2 separate regions of the Homo sapiens genome follow, and region 1 is linked to region 2. Evidence: promoter capture Hi-C in 16 types of primary human blood cells and fetal thymus (Javierre and others, 2016). All regions are on one chromosome and are shown on one strand. Each heading gives the region's core, a stretch centred on a gene start or on the middle of the fragment in contact. The rest is flanking DNA. Distances are from core to core; before and after follow the strand shown. Region 1 holds the start of CD27 (CD27 molecule). Region 2 holds the start of GNB3 (G protein subunit beta 3).

Region 1 (2,700 bases), core at 5-2,504, 400 kb before region 2:
AAGAGCTGCAGAGGGGGCTGGGAAAAGACAAGAGAATGGAGAAAATGAGGAGAAAGGAAACTACAGAGTGAGATAGAGAACAGATCTGACAGGTGTGACCACAGCAGTGTGACATTTATGAACAGTGTGGAAACAACGGCAAAGCCCCTAAATTAAAAACTTCCTGGGGAAATAAGCCACTCCACATATCGGTTGCTGAGGAAAGAGTGGAGGAGGCTGTTGACCCGTGTGTGTCCCCATGACTCAAAGAGGGAAAAGTCTAGCTGTTTCCAATATCCCGAAATCAGTCTTGCTGGGAGAACTGGGAAAATAAAAAAGAGATGACCCCCGTAGGAAGCTACCTTTAATCCCAAGTGCCCAAGGCTAGGAGAGAAGATGCTCCAGGCGATCCAGGACACCAGTGACTGACACAGCCAGAGGTGGGAAAGGGGAGGATAAAGATGGCACAAAAGTGAGGAGTGAGCAAGGGTCTGAGAGGGAAGGCCATGTGGGCAGTAGGTGGCACCCACATCAGAGACTGACATGAGGATTAAAGGAGAGCATAGGTGATCGGTCAGAGTGTGACAGAAGAGAGGCAGCTCTACACCCCTTGCTTGCAATTCTGAGCATTCTGTAGCAAACTCGTTTGGCCATCAAACCAGACCTCAATTGAGACAAGGCTATTTAAGCTTCCTCCCAGTTGGTGTAAATATTCAATAGTTTTGCTGCAGAAATGTTGCGTTTGATTATGAGACTACCCCAACTCCCCAAGGGTGTTTTGTGGTGCTGGTTTCTGTATAAACCTGAAAAATTCTGAATTCCAAAACTTATCTGACCCCCAAAGTTTCAGATAAGAGCTTGTGGACCTGTGCTCAATTCTGGTTCTCCTTCCTTCTTTCAACTGTTGTCTGTGAAAGGAGGGATGCAGGTATGGGAGACAGGAGTCCTGCGAATTCGTCTGTAAACTGTGGACGGGGGGGTGGGTGGGGGGGGGTAACGTGGGCACCTTTGTGCACAAGTGCATGAATAGGAGGGGTGAGCAACTGTGTGTCCATCACCTTTTTGTCAAAGAAGCAGGAGTCAGTGGGCTACGTGCTTCATGAGCAGGAGAGGCGGAAACTAAGGAAGGCTCATGTGTTGGAGGAAGCATGTTTGAAGAGCAGCAGGTCTCACAGAGTTTGCTCTTTAATACTCTCCCCAGCACACGGAAGGGGAAGGGGGTGGAGGTTGCTGCTATGAGAGAGAAAAAAAAAACAGCCACAATAGAGATTCTGCCTTCAAAGGTTGGCTTGCCACCTGAAGCAGCCACTGCCCAGGGGGTGCAAAGAAGAGACAGCAGCGCCCAGCTTGGAGGTGCTAACTCCAGAGGCCAGCATCAGCAACTGGGCACAGAAAGGAGCCGCCTGGGCAGGGACCATGGCACGGCCACATCCCTGGTGGCTGTGCGTTCTGGGGACCCTGGTGGGGCTCTCAGCTACTCCAGCCCCCAAGAGCTGCCCAGAGAGGCACTACTGGGCTCAGGGAAAGCTGTGCTGCCAGATGTGTGAGCCAGGTAAGAGGGGGCCTTGGTAAGGGCCAGGTGAGTGGCGAAAGAGAGAGGACTGGGGTTAATACAGTAAATAGGCGCAGGGTGAGACTGAGCTCAAGCAAGGAGGGAAATCCTGCAGCTGTGGGGAGGCACCACCTTGAAGAGGGCAGAGAACCAGCCCTTCTCAGGCCTTGATCCCTTACCCTCTCCTCCCAGGAACATTCCTCGTGAAGGACTGTGACCAGCATAGAAAGGCTGCTCAGTGTGATCCTTGCATACCGGGGGTCTCCTTCTCTCCTGACCACCACACCCGGCCCCACTGTGAGAGCTGTCGGCACTGTAACTCTGGTGAGGTGGGCAAGGGTGTGTAGGTGGGGACGATGGACAAGCATCTGGGGGAGCAAGGCTGGTGACGGGTTTGGGGGTGCAAGGAGGATGACGGGGCCAAAGCTTTGGCCTTCTTCAAGGCTCACAGCAAGTGGAGCCAATGCTGGGAAATGCGGCACCCTAGGTGGGGCATGAATTAACGTGGGCAGACATCTAGTATTCCAGGAAAGGGATAAATAGAATTTGAGGGATTGGTGAGAACGGGTCTATGGATAGGATCAAGACAATAAAATGAGAGAAGTGGCTCTATGACCCCAGATTTCGGGCAAGCAACCCCCAACCAATAAACTGACTGTGTTCCCAGAGTGCACATGTGCAGGTTGGCCATTGGGAATTTGGAATACATCTTTCTAAGGAAATAACAAAGCAACCCAATAGGTAACAACCTTTTTTTGCACAAAAGCCAATTTGAGAAAATGAGTATGTATGTAGCCTGTGTTTTTATTTTATAGTTCCAAAAAAAAAGGTTTTTTTTAAACTAAGAAGTATAATATCTGCAGTTGTGCTTATGAATGCTGTTATTATTTCTCCATCTTCGCTACAATTTCAGAAACTACGGCCAGTATACACTAGAATAGCAGGCTTTAAAGTGGCCCCTTTGAACAAATGTTCTCTAGCAAGACACTTTTTAGAACCAGGTAACTGTAACTATTAAACTACCTACTTGCAAAACGTGTTTGGTGTCACTGGGTCTCTTGGTACTGGGTTTTGTTTTGTTTAGTTTAGAGACAAGGTCTAGCTCTGTCACCCAGGCTGGAGTGCAGTGGTGCAATCATAGCTCCCCACAGCCTTGAACTCCTGGGCTC
Region 2 (2,765 bases), core at 132-2,631:
TGTGACATCAGGAGCAGAACAGCAAGCTCTCTGTCCCTGCACCCCCACCATCTTGGGGACCTACAAGGGCCTGGACTCAGAGGACAGTGCACAGGCTAGCCTGGAGCTCACCAGGCCTGGGGAGCTGGGACGGGGCCCCGCTGCCGGACCTGCAGCCCTGGACAGATGGGGAACACTGTGCCTCCCTGAACAGAAATGGCAGGGGAGGAGGCTGATGCTTTAAATGAAGAGGATGGTGGGGTTGGGAGGTATAACCCTGCTCCTCTCTCCCAGTCTGTGCAATAAAGGTCGTGAAGATCTCTCAGCCAGGGGCCAGTCAAGTGTATCACAGATTCTGTGATGGCTGGAGGTGGGGGTGGCTCTGGCTGGCCTGGGAGGAGACAGGTGTCTTTGGGCCTCCCAGAGGCGGGGCGCCTGGAGCCTGTGATTTGTCAGGGAAATCTCAGCCACCTGCTCCCCTCATGCAAATGACCCAAGCCCCTGGCAGCTGCTCCTTAGGCCTCCAAGTGTAAGCCCTGTCTTCCCTCTCTGAGCTTTGCTGAGACTTAGGGCCGCCTGCTTTCTCTCTGACCCCTGCTTTCACAGCCTCGAGAGGGCAAGGAGGGGGCCAGACCCCAGCCTGGGAGCAGCGTGCGGGCCTTCCCTCCACTTGAAATCCGTTGCCCGCCCACAATAGGGGCAGACCTGTCCATCCTTCTCTGTGGGTCCCCTGTACCTTTCTCCCCCAACAGGATCAGACCCAGAGGCAGCTGGTTGGGGTTTGTCGAGAAGAAGGATTATCCAGATCAGTCCTTTCTAATCTCAGCTCCTGCCTGTACCCTCCCATACTCACCAAACCCTCTTCCCCACCACCCTGAGCTGAGGAGCACAGTTTGAGGTACTGACAATGGGGCCATCTATCACCCTTATATCCCACCTCCTGGCCTGGTTGCTAAGTGGCCCTGACTGCCAAGATCATCACCATGGATGGGGGCCGGGACCAGGGGGGCCACTGGAGCTGTAGTTGTCTGCTCCTTTGCACCCCTCCCAAACCCCAACCCTTAATCCTCACAGCTTTGCTCTAATCCTGTGGGGCCTGATGCTCTTATCTCTGCCTGCAGAGACTGACCAGGGAAGCACCCCTTCACCCCCTCCTCTCTCAGGGCTTGTGGTGGGGGCTGCCCCTCTCTATGGCCCCACACTCCTGCCCCCAACCCTCCTCCCGGCTGGGCCCAAGTCTCTCTGGAATCCGTACACCTCCCTCCCTCCCCCCACCCCTTCCCCCCACCCCTGCCAGCTGATTTCATTTGCCTGACGTTGTGGTTGGCTCTACCCTTCCCTGTCAGGCCCCCCCAACCCCCCGCCGGTCGGGGCCAGGCCAGGCCAGGCCAGCTCCTCTGGCAGCAGAGCCTGGGCAGGTGACGGGCGGGCGCGGGCGTCGCAGCTGAGGGAGTAAGGAGGCTCCCAGGAACCGGAGCTGGAAACCCGGCCGAGGTCCAGCCAGAGCCCAAGTAAGAGGGAGCTGGCCTGGGCTCTGCTCTCCTGGGCTGGGGCGCAGGCAGGGCTCAGGCAGGCTGGGGCTGGACGCAAAGGACCTCAAACTTGGAGGGCCTAGCTGGGGAGAGGGTGCAGCCACCCAGTCGTTTCCCTGTGTCTTGGAGTCTGGTGTGGGCACGAAGGGCAGAAGCACAGCCTGGTGGGGGGTTCCTCAACACCGACCCCATGTTCCTGGCAGGAGCCAGAGTGACCCCTCGACCTGTCAGCCATGGGGGAGATGGAGCAACTGCGTCAGGAAGCGGAGCAGCTCAAGAAGCAGATTGCAGTAACTCCAGAGCCCTACCCCTGGGGCCCCAGAAAACAGCTGGGGACATGAGGAGCGTGGCCCAGGGGGAGGGGGCTGGGTTTGCTCTTGAGTGACTAGAAGTGACCAGGGACTTTCTAAACTTGGTTCGCATATTTGAGACCCCCAAGCCCCAGAGCCCCAAGACCAACCTGCCCTGAAGGCCCATGCACCTGCCACCCCCACCTCGCCCTTGCTCCCCTGATGTCTGCTTTCCCTGCAGGATGCCAGGAAAGCCTGTGCTGACGTTACTCTGGCAGAGGTAAGACCCCCTGTCCCCCGGAAGGCAGGGCATGGGGGGAGGGGAAGGGAGCTCCCCGACCCGCAATAGCGCGTTGCTCCGAGCATTAGTACAGCACGTCCTTGGAGTGAGGAAACCCATTAATTAATTCATTCGACCAACATTTTAGCGGGACCTGCTCTGAGCCAGGCACCATATTGGATGCGAAAGATGCGGACACGGTTCCTATTCTCATCCGTAGAACAAGAGTGACCACAGCCCCCTCCCAGGGCCTTGAAGATGAAGAAGCGATAGTACTTTGTAAATTATAAAGCCCTTGTAGACTCTAGCTGCTAGTTTTCTATGCTGTATTTTGTCAATTCTAAGATGCACATTTCTTCACATTTTGACATCTCTGAAATCAAGGTGCATTCAGCAATGGATCATTGTTTCAATTAGAATTGACAGCATCTTTTCTTTCTTAGTGATGCATCTTAGATTGGATTAAATATGTTAATAGTGAACACTTTTTATGAGCCAGATACTGGGCTAAGCTGCATAAATACCTGATTTCATTGAATTTTCATGATATCTCTGTAAGGTAGGTGCTATGATAAGCCTCATTTTACACCTTGAGTAAACAGACTCAGGGAGGTGAAGCAACTTGCCCAAGATAACAAAGCAGGCCGGGCGCAGTGGTTCACGCCTGTAATCCCAGCCCTTTGG

What was found. Contacts are between HindIII fragments. The CHiCAGO score rates a contact against its expected background, and 5 or more counts as called.
Region 1: a contact is called between the fragment with the promoter of CD27 here and the fragment with the promoter of GNB3 in region 2, in 2 of 17 cell types (activated CD4 T cells and total CD4 T cells). The highest score is 5.2, in activated CD4 T cells.

What each region holds. Positions count from the first base shown.
Region 1 is chr12:6,443,701-6,446,400 of GRCh38, forward strand. It overlaps CD27 (CD27 molecule), which reads left to right and starts at 1,255. Exons shown (of 6, transcript NM_001242.5): 1 at 1,255-1,531; 2 at 1,724-1,855. The coding sequence starts at 1,396. It overlaps CD27-AS1 (CD27 antisense RNA 1), which reads right to left. Exons shown (of 6, transcript NR_015382.2): 5 at 1-17. RefSeq lists enhancers at 347-416, 437-486, 1,391-1,892, 1,437-1,496, 1,527-1,706 and 1 more. The HindIII fragment of the contact is 1,289 bases long and covers 667-1,955 here.
Region 2 is chr12:6,839,544-6,842,308 of GRCh38, forward strand. GNB3 (G protein subunit beta 3) reads left to right here and starts at 1,382. Exons shown (of 10, transcript NM_002075.4): 1 at 1,382-1,490; 2 at 1,715-1,801; 3 at 2,043-2,081. The coding sequence starts at 1,745. P3H3 (prolyl 3-hydroxylase 3) reads left to right here. Exons shown (of 15, transcript NM_014262.5): 15 at 1-304. The HindIII fragment of the contact is 12,557 bases long and covers 1-2,765 here.